Regions from separate parts of the Homo sapiens genome. Here regions 2 and 3 are each linked to region 1. The links are contacts of gene promoters, found by promoter capture Hi-C in blood cells and fetal thymus (Javierre and others, 2016). All regions are on one chromosome and are shown on one strand. The core of a region is centred on a gene start or on the middle of the fragment in contact, and the rest is flanking DNA. Distances in the headings are between cores, read along the strand shown.

What was found. Contacts are between HindIII fragments. The CHiCAGO score rates a contact against its expected background, and 5 or more counts as called.
Region 2: a fragment that was not itself captured here is called in contact with the fragment with the promoter of FDXACB1 in region 1 in 2 of 17 cell types (erythroblasts and naive CD8 T cells); the score reaches 5.6 in erythroblasts.
Region 3: a fragment that was not itself captured here is called in contact with the fragment with the promoter of FDXACB1 in region 1 in 3 of 17 cell types (erythroblasts, naive B cells and total B cells); the score reaches 6.5 in erythroblasts.

Annotation. Positions count from the first base shown.
Region 1 is chr11:111,876,398-111,880,652 of GRCh38, forward strand. FDXACB1 (ferredoxin-fold anticodon binding domain containing 1) reads right to left here and starts at 2,768. Exons shown (of 5, transcript NM_138378.3): 1 at 2,564-2,768; 2 at 2,159-2,315; 3 at 411-614; 4 at 84-242. The coding sequence starts at 2,735. CFAP68 (cilia and flagella associated protein 68) reads left to right here and starts at 3,144. Exons shown (of 4, transcript NM_022761.3): 1 at 3,144-3,208. The coding sequence starts at 3,164. RefSeq lists enhancers at 2,436-3,055, 2,552-3,021. The HindIII fragment of the contact is 2,066 bases long and covers 1,485-3,550 here.
Region 2 is chr11:112,099,357-112,103,611 of GRCh38, forward strand. No RefSeq gene overlaps it. Among named protein-coding and RNA genes, the nearest start is that of SDHD, 15 kb to the left of the region's middle. RefSeq lists a silencer at 415-623. The HindIII fragment of the contact is 1,144 bases long and covers 1,549-2,692 here.
Region 3 is chr11:112,051,940-112,056,194 of GRCh38, forward strand. The region is part of intron 11 of DLAT (dihydrolipoamide S-acetyltransferase); the gene reads left to right. It also overlaps a transcript of PIH1D2 not described here. Among named protein-coding and RNA genes, the nearest start is that of PIH1D2, 20 kb to the right of the region's middle. The HindIII fragment of the contact is 6,314 bases long and covers 1-4,255 here.

The DNA.
Region 1 (4,255 bases), core at 1,518-4,017:
CATCCATTCAATATATGGTTGCCATCAAGACAATCAGGATACAACTGGAGATGGAAGTGATTTCCAGCAAAATAACTGGTTACCTGTTCAACTTTCCTACAAGTGCTTCTGGTTCTGGAAAGGAAAACCACTGGTTACCCAGTTTGATCCTGAAGATTCTGGGTTGAGAACCTTCAAAAGGTAAGCTCCTGGTGAAGATATGGTTCAAAGCACCTTCTACATGAAAGGACTTATCTTGACTCCTGGCAAAATAGACACCAATATGAAGTCTGTCATTATTAAAATAAGCAAGTATTTTTAGAGACCGAATCAATTAATTGGCAGGGCCTATTGAGTCTGTCTATGAGATTTTGTTATCATTAGTGAGAGAGATGAAAACGCAGAAGGCTTAAACCTATGCTATTACCTACCTATATCCAGTGCACTTGTACCCTGCCACAGCCTTACAGCTGAATGGATACACGTCGCTTAAAATGAGCCCCCCCAGGGCTGCCATGGCAACCACTTGCCAACTGTTGTGCCATTCTCTCTGGGGCTTATCCGCAGGAGTTCCACCTTGTCCTCTACATAATGCCACGTGGACTTCTCCTTCCTCTGCAAGAACGTCTGCACAGCTAATAGGGAGAAAAGAAACACTAACTAATTATCATAAACAAGCAGAAATTACCACAGGAGTTGGCAACATACACATGGTTTGCCTGTGAAATAATTAAAATCCAATCATACCTATGTGCAAAAATCTATTAGACCTCAAAAAATGCAAAGAAAGTAGCTGGAAGTAAATAGAAGCATAAATTAAATGTTCAACCCACTCACTGATAAGATTGGCTGACCAGGGTCTGCTTTGCATTTGTGTCATTCATGCATATGTCACAGAAAGATCAATATCTGCACAGTTCCTATATATGATTCATTGCTTAGGCTGTTTCTTCCCATTTAGAAAGTTCTTTTCACTGCCCTCCTGAAATTCAAATACTAGTTTAAAATACCACCTCTGTCAAAACTTTATTGACAGCTATGCCCCATCGGACACCTCCAATAGTATCATGTCTTGTGGTATAATCATGTAAAGCACTGTTTTCAGTTCACAATAATTTTATGAGGCTGTTAGTTACTTTTTTTTTTTTTTTTTTTTTTGAGATGGAGTCTTGCTCTGTCGCCCAGGCTGGAGTGCAGTGGCACGATCTCAGCTCACTGCAACCTCCACCTCCCAAGTTCAAGCGATTCTCCTGCCTCAGCCTCCCAAGTACCTGGGACTACAGGCACGTGCCAGCACGGCCAGCTAATTTTTATATTTTTAGTAGAGGCGGGGTTTTGCCACTTTGGCCAGGCTGGTCTCAAACTCCTGACCTCAGGTGATCTGCTCACCTCGGCCTCCCAAACTGCTGGGATTACAGGCATGAGCCACCACGCCTGGCCCAGTTAGTTACTATTAATATCCCTAGTTTACAGTTGAGGAAACGGAAGCATGTAAAGATTAAGTAAGCTTGCTTAAAATAACAACTGTTGGCCGGGCGTGGTGGCTCATGCCTGTAATCCCAGCACTTTAGGAGGCCAAGGCAGGCGGATCACAAGGTCAGGAGATCGACACCATCCTGGCTAACACGGTGAAACCCCATCTCTACTAAAAATACAAAAAATTAGCTGGGCGTGGTGGCGGGCGCCTGTACTCCCAGCTACTTGGGAGGCTGAGGCAGGAGAATGGCGTGAACCCAGTAGGCGGAGCTTGCAGTGAGCCGAGATTGCACCACACCACTGCACTCCAGCCTGGGCGACAGGGCGAGACTCTGTCTCAAAAAATAAAAATAAATAAAAATAAAAAAATAACAACTGTTAAGTGGTGGGCTGGGATTTGAATCCAGGCAGTCTGGCTTCTAAGTGCACGTTCTTAGCCATTAGACTATATGGCTCTCATTATTTTGCACTGTCAAAAATAAATGATCCTCTTTTACACACCCAAGAGTACATTATTTGTACTTTCATTTAGCATTTAGGGTTTATATATCTGTCTTTCCAACTAAACTTGGGGTTCCTTTGGGGCTTTATAGTCTCTTCTAAACATATCATAGTAGCTTGCACGTGTGCCTTATGTTTGGGTACAGTAACTATGTTATGGACATCTTAAACATTTTCCTTGTGAGGGCGCTCCTTTCCTCACCTTTGGAAAAATTTGGCAAGCAGTTCCCTGTTCTTAGCTACGCCAGCTTTGCGTCCACAATGCGGGAAGATGAAATAAATTTGATCAAATTCTCTCTCGTGCAGTTCAAAGACATCTGCCAGCTGGGTGCAGTCCACACCGAAACGTACATCGATACCTGGCAAAGATAGTTTGGGGGCGCAAAATATAGACAGGAGGATGCCTCAAGACATGGAACAGAAAAACTCTTCCTAACTTAAACCGTGCAGACCAGCCCAAGTCTGGGCACAAAGCCGGCTTTATGTGAATATCCGTGGGACGATCAAGAACAATCTCCACGTGGGTTACATCCCCACGCCCCCACCCTTTCCACTTTGGGACGCGCCGGCCGCTGGGCGGGGTTTCGCAGAGGGGCGGGCTCGCTACCTCGCTCGCGCAGGCACTGCAGATTCTCCCAGGCCAGTGGATCCCGAGCCAACTCGGCCGGGCGCTGGAGGCAGGTGGCGGTAAGTTGAGTGCTCTGATCCAGGGTTTCGCTCAGAGCGGCGGCGAAGGAGAAATTCCCCTCCCCAACCAACAGGAGGCGCCGAGGGGCCATGGCCTCCACGGACTCCCGGCTCGCGTTCTCTGTGGCGCTCGTTTTACGTCACTTCCTTCACGGATCTCTCTCCGCCCCGTCTTCTCCCGTCACTAGTTGATGACGCACCCATGGCGCCTGGTTGTCTAGACGAGCCGGTGTACCGACTCCCCGGTGGATGATAACTATGAGTGCAAAAGCAAGACGCGCACTTTCCTGTCACCTCGCCCTTTCACCCCCTCGGGAAGATCAAAGTGTCTTTAGCCCAAGCATGGCCTTGAGCGACTTCATCACACCTGCATGAGGTCACAAGCAGTCACTAGCGCAGGGGGGTGAGGCGAGTTCTGGGTGAAAGAAACGGGGCGGGGCTGAGGCCAAGGAAGAGGTTGGACTGTGTCTCGCATGCTCCTGACGCAGAAGGTTTTGAACCTTTTTTCACCTCGTCTGAAATGGCTGCCTCCCAGTGTCTCTGCTGCTCAAAATTTCTCTTCCAGGTGCTTAAATCTCCTATCTTCTATTCGTTCAAGAAAGAGTATTGAGTGTCTATTGCGTGCCAGGCCACTGTGAGGGTGGTTACGATATGTGGATGAACAAAATGTGGCCTATGATTTCAATGAGCCTGCAGTCTGGTGGGGAATGCACAGAGCAAAACAGGCAACTCTGATATGGCAGGGTGTGTGCTCTGGGAGCACACAGAAGAACGTTACCAAGTTTGGGGGCGAAGAGGGTCAGAGAGTCCTTGGATGAAGTAAACCCGAGTTGAAAGCTAACAGGGTAAAAGTGCATCTTAACTGAGTCAAGAGGCGTGAAGAGGCAGAAGGAACAATATATGCAAAAGCTTGATGGAGAAACAGAATAGTTGAGTTTGGCTGAAACACAATTGGAGGGAGAGTAACAGATGAGACTGAAGAGTTAGGCAGGGGCCAGGTCATAGGGAGCGTTGTAAGCCTTTAAAAAAAATCAACTTTTATTTTACAAATGGGGGTACAGGTACAGGTTTGTTACGTGGATATATTGCACCCAGGTAGGTTGCAGGTTTGCTACATGGGTATATTGCACCTAATAGTTTTTCAACCCACACCACCCGCCCTCCCCACTCTAGTTAGTAGCCTGGAGTGTGTGTTGTTTCCATGTTTAGGTCCATGTTTGCTCAATGTTTAGCTCCCACTTATAAGTGAGAATGTCAGAGGTATTTATACCAGAGCAACTCCGTCTTGAATAGGGGCTAGGTAAATAAGGCTAAGACCTGGGCTGCATTCCCAGTAAGTTAAGGCATTCTTAGTCACAGGATGAGATAGCTCAGCACAAGATACAGGTCATAAAGACCTTGCTGATAAAACGGGTTGCAGTAAAGAAGCCAGCTAAAATCCACCAAAACCGAGATGGTGATGAGAGTGATCTCTGGTCATCCTCATTGCTACACTCCCACCAGCGCCATGACAGTTTACAAATGCCATGGCAAAGTCAGGAAGTTACCGTATATGGTCTAAAAAGTGGAGGTATGAATTAATCCACCCCTTGTTTAGTATATAATCAACAAC
Region 2 (4,255 bases), core at 871-3,370, 220 kb after region 1:
TACTAAGCCCAGGTGGCCCAGAGTTCTAGTCTTCTTCTTCTTATTATTATTATTATATATATATTTTTGAGACAGAGTCTCGCTCTGTCACCCAGGCTGGAGTGCAGTGGTGCGATCTTGGCTCACTGCAAGCTCCGCCTGCCAGGTTCACACCATTCTCCCACCTCAGCCTCTGGAGTAGCTGGGACTACAGGCGCCTGCCACCATGCCCGGCTAATTTTGTTTTCATATTTTTAGTAGAGACGGGGTTTCACCGTGTCAGCCAGGATGGTCTTGATCTCCTGACCTCATGATCCGCCTGCCTCGGCCTCCCAAAGTGCTAGGATTACAGGCATGAGCCACCACGCCTAGCCATTATTATATTTTTTTGAGTCAGAATCACGCTCTGTTGTCCAGGTTGGAGTGCAGTGGCGTGATCAAACTCACTGCAGCCTTGATCTCCTGTGCTCAAGTGATCCTCCCACCTCAGCCTTCTGAAAGTAGCTGGGATTACAGACTTGTGCCACCATGCCTAGCTAATTTTTTTGATTTTTAGTAGAGATGAGGTCTCACTGTGTTGCCCAGGCTGGTCTCAAACTCCTGAGCTCAAGTAATCCACCTGCCTTTGCCTCCCAAAGTGCTTGCATTATATGCTTGCGCCACCATGTCTGGCCGGATTCTAGTTTTAAGAAGGTGGCACATAGGCCAGGAGAAAAGCTTAGGGCTCAAACCAGGGAGTTAGAATGAAGATTCCCCTAAACCAAGAACCATAAAGAGTTTTGCCCTCAGAGAAAGGGTGAATTAGAAAAAATGATATTTGCTCACACCTGTAATCCCAGCACTCTGGGAGGCCGAGGCGGGTGGATCATCTGAGGTTGGGAGTTCGAGACCATCCTGACCAACAGAGAGAAACCCTGTCTCTACTAAAAATACAAAAAAAAAAAAAAAAAAAAGGGCCGGGCGTGGTGGTGGGTGCCTGTAATCCCAGCTACTCGGGAGGCTGAGGCAGGAGAATTGCTTGAACCCGGGAGGCAGAGGTTGCGGTGAGCTGAGATCACACCATTACACTCCACCCTGGGCAACAAGAGTGAAACTCCATCCCCCCCAAAAGAAAAACTGATATTTATCTGAAAAAGCAGAGAGCAGAGCAATGTGTGTATCTTGCCTTGGCTCAGGTTGGAGGAAAGAGTCTCTTCTGAGAATGTGTGGCTAAGAGCCAGTCCTCATGCCAGTTTGGAGTCCGAGTTCAAGTTACCTGCATATCTAAAAAGGTTACATGGGGCAAATTTAACTTTGACCTAGGTTTGTAGGGCATGGTAGTCAGCACAAATCCTCACCAGAGAGAGAAGGGTTACCCCAACACAAGCTTCAAAAATCCCCATAAAGTTCCAGTGAACGTGAACTGTCAGCAAAAATCACAGTACTGGAATGTCCTGAGCAAGAGTCAGCACAAATAAACAGAACCATACCCACAAAGAATTCAGACCCTGGAATTTTCAGATACACATTATAAACATAAGATGAGATATAAGTCTAAATATAAGTCAGCTTTCTGCTCAGGGATCAGAAAGCTTTTGGAGAGAGTGGTATATACTTGATGTTATCGTCTCAATTCATAGAATCTTAAAAAGTAGATGTCTACTTAGGAGAGTTTTCTCCTCTGGACACCTGATAATGAGTGTCAGGGTCAATTCCCAGTGGGGCTGAATGTTCAGTTTCTGAGACCTAAGCACCACTGTGAAGCATGTATCCATGACTATGGGCCTGGAGCTTCAGAACGGTGTCTATGAGATTAAAATACCCAAATGGTCATTTCCAATGTGGTTCTAACTCTAACTTTCATCAGTGACTGTTTCTAAACTAGTCTTCCAGGCCAGGTGCAGTGGCTCATGCCTGTAATCCCAGCACTTTGGGAGGCCGAGGCAGGCGGATCGCCTGAGGTCAGGAATTCGAGACCAGCCTGGCCAACATGGTGAAACCCTGTCTCTACCAAAATATACAAAAATTAGCCGGGTGTGGTGGCATGCGCCTGTATAGTCCTAGCTACTTGGGAGATTGACGCGGGAGAATTGCTTGAACCCAGGAAGTGGAGGTTGCAGTGAGCTGAGATTGCGCCACTGCACTCCAGCTTGGGTGACAGAGTGAGACCCTGTCTCAAACATATAAATATAGGGCCTGGCACAGTGACTCACGCCTGTAATCCCAGCACTTTGGGAGGCTGAGGCAGGTGGATCACCTGAGGTCAGGAGTTTGAGACCAGCCTGGCCAACATGGTGAAACCCCGTCTCTACTAAAAATACAAATATTAGCCTGCCATGGTGGCTTATGCCTGTAGTCCCAGCTACTCAAGAGGCTGAAGCAGGAGAATTGCTTGAACCCGGGAGGCGGAGGCTGCAGTACGCCAAAATCATGTCACTGCACTCCAGCCTGGGCAACAGAGTGAGACTCAGTCTCAATAAATAATAATATAATATAATATAAATATAAATAAAAAACTAGTCTTTCAGTTGTAGATTATGCTGGTGATGATGGGAGACACAATGTATCTATTGGTATTCTTTTGAGAAACAGAGTTTGTAAATTGGGCATAAGACTATGTATATGAGATTCATTTTTGAAAAAATACAAGATTACTACATACCAAGGATGAAATCTGTTACGGGATGTGTCAAGCCCAGCCTCATAGAGTGTTTCTATAATAGTTTAATATGAAAGCTTATGAAGATTTTAAGAAGTAAATTGCAATATCATCAGGCCTATGTATAAAACTTAAAAACGTAAAACTAAGGGAGGCTGGGCGCGGTGGCTCATACCTGTAATCCCATCACTTTGGGAGGCTGAGGCGGGCGTATTATGAGGTCAGGAGTTCGAGACCAGCCTGGCCAATATGGTGAAATCCTGTCTCTACTAAAAATACAAAAATTAGCCGGGTATGGTGGCATGAGCCTATAGTCCCAGCTACTCGAGAGACTGAGGCAGGAGAATTGCTTGAACATGGGAGGTGGAGGTTGCAGTAAGCCGAGATGTGCCACTGCACTCCAGCCTGGGCTACAGAGCAAGACTCTGTCTCAAAAAACAACAACAACAACAAAAAAACCAAAAAAAAAATAATAAGGGAAAGCTGTAGTCTACCAGAAATGTTATAAACTATTATTAAAAAGTTTTTTTTTTTTTTTTTGAGATGGAGTCTTGCTCTTTCACCCAGGCTGGAGTGCAGTGGTGCAATCTCAGCTCACTGGAACCTCTGCCTCTGGGTTCAAGAGATTCTCCTGCCTCAGCCTCCCGAGTAGCTGGGATTACAGGCACCCGCCACCACGCCTGGCTAATTTTTGTATTTTTATTAGAGACAGGGTTTCACCATGTAGGCCAGGCTGGTCTTGAACTCCTTGCCTCAAGTGATCCGCCTGCCTTGGCCTCCCAAAGGATTACAGGCGTGAGCCACTGCACCCAGCCTCAAATGGTCTTTAATGTTGGTGTTTCTTTGTATATTTGTTCTGGATTATTATAATTAAAATGAACAATACATTGATATGATTAATAAATTAATGCATTGATATGATAAATAAAATGAGTAAGCCTCTTAGGTAAGACTTTTTTGACTAGTACTTTATAAAGTTTGAGCCAGTTTGTCCCTGTCAATTGAGCTATTATTATATTATTATTTTTGCAGCATGAAAATTATTGAGCTGGAGGTAGTTTGGGAGAAACCAAGCAGTATGAAACAGTCTTGACAAAACCAATGTCCTTCCTCTTATCCACCCTTCTACCCCCAATGAGGGCAGAGTGTTGTATTTTAATCCCTCTTATATACAGAAATCAGATTGAACAACTATTGTTATAATACCAACGCTGGTAAAGCTAGAAAGGGCTGTTTGTATAAGGTGGCGGCCTTTTTTTTTTTTTTTTTGAGACGGAGTCTTGCTTTGTCACCAGGCTGGAGTGCAGTGGCACGATCTTGGCTCACTGCAATCTCTGCCTCCTGGGTTCAAGCAATTCCCCTGCCTCAGCCTCTTGAGTAGCTGGGATTACAGGCACCCACTACCATGCCCTGCTAATTTTTTGTGTTTTAGTAGAGACGGGGTTTCACTATGTTGGCCAGGATGGTCTCGATCTCCTGACCTCGTGATCCACCCGCCTCAGCTTCCTAAAGTGCTGGGATTATAGGTGTGAGCCACCGTGCCCGGCCAAGGTAGCAGGCTTTAAAGCATGACCTTTAGCATGCACTTTATTCTTAATGACTGAAATTTGCTTTGGGTGTTGGAGTATCTTTAGTAAG
Region 3 (4,255 bases), core at 1,249-3,748, 180 kb after region 1:
TCATTCAATTCTCATGACTATCTTATGATTTAAGTGCTTTCACTTCCATTTCTAGATAAAGAAACAGACTCCGTGAGTTAAGTAACTTGCCCTGAGTTAATAAATTAGTGTTAGGACTGTGATTAGAACCAAGATTCTGACTCCTAAGCCTATTCGTTTCTTGCTGTGTAGATGCTTCTATGTTATTCTTATTCTGAAAGGAAAAAAACAAACTTTTTTCCTTTGTACTTTGCTGTCACACAGTCACAGCACCGCTTCTGTGACCAGATGAGTAGAGGCAGGGGTGGGGAGGGTTTCCCCACACACCAACCAAACAATTAATTCTGCAGTGATTTCCTCTAATTCAATTCAATTCAATTCTGGTGCTGTCTACCTGTAGATAGTGTCAGATCCCAAAGATTGAGGGCTCAGTCCTACAAGACTGCCCTCACTTCAGATGCCAGTCAAAAGTGTAGGCCACTCATACTTGTAACTGACTGGCTACAAACTTGTTGCTGTGACCTCTTCCTTGGGTTTGATTAACTTGCTAGGACAATTCACAGAACTTGGGGAAACACTTTATGTTTATTATAAAGGATATTACAAAGGATATGGATGAACACCAGATGAAGAGATGGCTAGGGCGAGGTTTGAGGTGGGGTGGTGCAGAGCTTCCATGTCCTTTCTGGGCATACCACCCTTCCAGCACTTCCACAGTTCAGCAACTGGAAGCTCATTAAATCTTGTTGAAGGGTCTTAATAGAGGGGGCTGGGGAGAAAAAGGAAAGGAAGAAAAAAGTCTTTGTAGAGTTTGATCTCCAGGATCTCCAGCCTACATCTCCCTCCCCTTTCCCTTAGGTCAGTGGGTAGAGCTAAAAGTTCCAACTCTCTAATCCTCTAGTCATTTTGACCCTTCCAGTGACTGGCGCCATCCCGAGGTTACTTAGGGATCCCACCCTAAGTATCCGTCATGGAGCTTATTATATAAGGGCTCATTATAAATAACAAAACATACTCCTATCACTCAGGAAATTCCGGTTCTAGGGGCTCTATGACAGGAACTGGCAACATGGGGACAAAGACCAAGTATATATTATACCACACTTACTAATATTTATTAATATTTTAGGGCCGGGCTCACACCTGTAATCTCAGCACTTTGAGAGGCCGAGGCAGGTGGATCACTTGAGGTCAGGAGTTCGAGACCAGCCTGGCCAACATGGTGAAACCCCATCTCTACTAAAAATACAAAAATTAGCTGAGCGTGGTGGTGCATGCCTGTAATCTCAGCTACTTGGGAAGCTGAGGCAGGAGAATTGCTTGAACCCAGGAGGTGGAGGTTGCAGTGAACTGAGATTGTGCCATTGCAGTCCAGCCTGGGTGATAAGAGCAAAACTCTGTCTCAAAAAAATATTTTCCTAATAAATATTAAATTTAGGTTAGAATACTGCTCCATGGCTTAGAGTGACTTGTTCTAACCCTTAATCTGAGGTCAGTTCCCAGGAGGCAAACACAACTGTTTGTTTTTTTTTGTTTTTTGTGTTTTGTTTTTGTGACAGAGTCTCTTTCTGTCGCCTAGGCTAGAGTGCAGTGGCGTGATCTTGGCTCACTGCAACCTCCGCCTCCCGAGTTCAAGCAATTTTCCTACCTCAGCCTCCTGAGTAGCTGGGATTACAGGCATGCGCCACCACTCCCAGGTAATTTTTTTGTAGTTTTAGTAGATATGGGGTTTCACCATATTGGCCAGACTGGTCTTGAACTCTTGACCTTGTGAGCCGCCCACCTTGGCCTCCCAAAGTGCTGGGATCACAGGTGTGAGCTACCACGCCCAGCCCTTAAACACAGCTTTTAAACTATTGTTTCTTCTGGTATTTATTTACCTGCAGATTTCCAAATAACATTTTTCTGTTGCCTTTTATGAGTTTTTCATTTATTTTACTTTATTGACTGACTCCCCGTTAAAGAACATTAATATTTAGCTTTAGCTCCAGTCTTGGGACTAGAGAGAAAAAAAAAGGTAGGTTTGTTATGCCCTTCCTACATACACACACATAACACCATCTTCCCAAATTGATTGTAGCACAAATTTGGATTAAATCTATATTTGGGGCCAGGTATGGTGGCTCACACCTGTAATCCCAGCACTTTGGGAGGCCAAGGCAGGTGGATCGCCTGAGGTCAAGCGTTCGAGATCAGCCTGGCCAACATGGTGAAACCCTGTCTCTGCTAAAAATACAAAAAAAAAAAAATAGCTAGGTATGGTGGTGCGCGCCTGTAGTCCCAGCTAATCAGGAGGCTGAGGCAGGAGAATTGCTTGAACCTGGGAGGCGGAGGTTGCAGTGAGCTGGGATTGCACGCGCCACTGCACTCCAGCCTGAGCAACAGAGCAAGACTGCATTTCAAATAATAATAATAATAAATAAATATAAATCTATATTTGGTTAATTTTTTTAGAGTATGTGTGTGTGTCCAGTGTTAATATTTGAATGCCTGTGACAGTGATTGTGTATGACTAAGACATGTATGATACCATGAATGCTAACCTAATTGATTTTAATAATTGCTTTAGGGAAGGCTAGTTTTCTACGTATATGTGAATTCTTTCTGAAACTCCACAAGCGAGGAGAGGAGATTCAGAAACCATTAAACCATTTCTCAATCTGATCAAACCTATTGGGTAAACTCTTTGTTCTAACTTTTCCTTGGTCATTCTTCATTTGGAGAACATCTGGACATCTAATATTCTTTATAAACTGTATAGTTTTCCAGGGCTGCCATTATTAATGACCACAAAGTTGATGGATTAAAACAAATTTATTCTCTCACAGTTCGGGAAACAAGTCTGAAATCAGGGTTTCAGCAGGGGCAATGCGTTCCCTCCAAAGACTATAGAGAAGAATCCTTCCTTGCCTTTTCCAGTTCTGGTGGCTTTAGGCATTTAGTGGTTTGTGATTGCATAACTCCAGTCTCTTCTTCCATCTTTACATGGCCTTCTCCTCTGTGTCTGTATTTTCTCTTCTCTTAAGAGGACAGTTGGTATTGGATTTAGGGCCACTCAGATAATATAGGATGATCTTATCTCAGGATCCTAATTATACCTTCAGAGACCTTTTTCCAAATAAGGTCACATTGATAGGTTCCAGGGATTAGGACAAAGACTTATCTTTTGGAGGGCCACCATTCATCCCACTAAACAGACTTTAGTCTTCCTGTTTTCAGCATTATTCATACTACTGACTCGTGGAGAGTTTTCTGGAGCCTGGCAGAAATGGCTTGCTTAAGGCATTGACAGTCTTCCGTAATTCAGTCAAGGCCTATTTTTTTTTTTTTTTTTTTTTTTTTTGAGATGGAGTCCTGCTCTGTCGCCCAGGCTGGAGTGCAGTGGCGCAATCTCGGCTCACTGCAACCTCCGCCTCGTGGGTTCATGCCGTTCTCCTGCCTCAGCCTCCCGAGTAGCTGGGACTACAGGTGTGCACCACCACGCCCGGCTAATTTTTTTGTATTTTTAGTAGAGATGGGGTTTCACCATGTTAGCCAGGATGGTCTCGATCTCCTGACATTGTGATCTGCCTGCCTTGGCCTCCCAAAGTGCTGGGATTACAGGCGTGAGCCACCGCGCCCGGCCAAGGCCTATATTCAACTATTGCTCCTCTCTAAACCCCTCTTCTTGTGCCATTCTGAGTTAGCCACTGTTACTGAACATACCTTTCAGTTCTCTCCTTCTAGGATGCTGTTTGGGCTTTCCTGTTCCTTGCTTTTAGATGCATTCCTTTTCCGTGCTATGGCCACCGTGATGATCGTCACAGCAGCAAACATTCAAGGAATTTATATTCCTTAAATATAAATACAGGATACTTAAAATCTAGATAAGAGGCAGGAATTTTTTTTTTAATATTCCTTTAATTCTCCTCTGTGCCAGCATATAGACACTTTTTTTTTTTTTTTTTTTTTTTTTTTTTTTTTTTTTTGAGGTGGAGTCTCGCTCTTTTGCCAGGCTGGAGTGCAATGGTGCTATCTCCGCTCATTGCAACCTCCGCCTCCCGGGTTCAAGCGATTCTCCTGCCTCAGCCTCCCGAGTAGCTGGGACTACAGGCACATGCCACCACACCCAGCTAATTTTTGTATTTTTAGTAGAGATGGGATTTCACCATGTTGGCCAGAATGGTCTCAATCTCTTGACTTTGTGATCTGCCTGCCTCGGCCTCCCAAAGTGCTGGGATTACAGCATGAGCCACCGTGCCTGGCCGCATGTAGACACTTTTTAACATTTAATTTG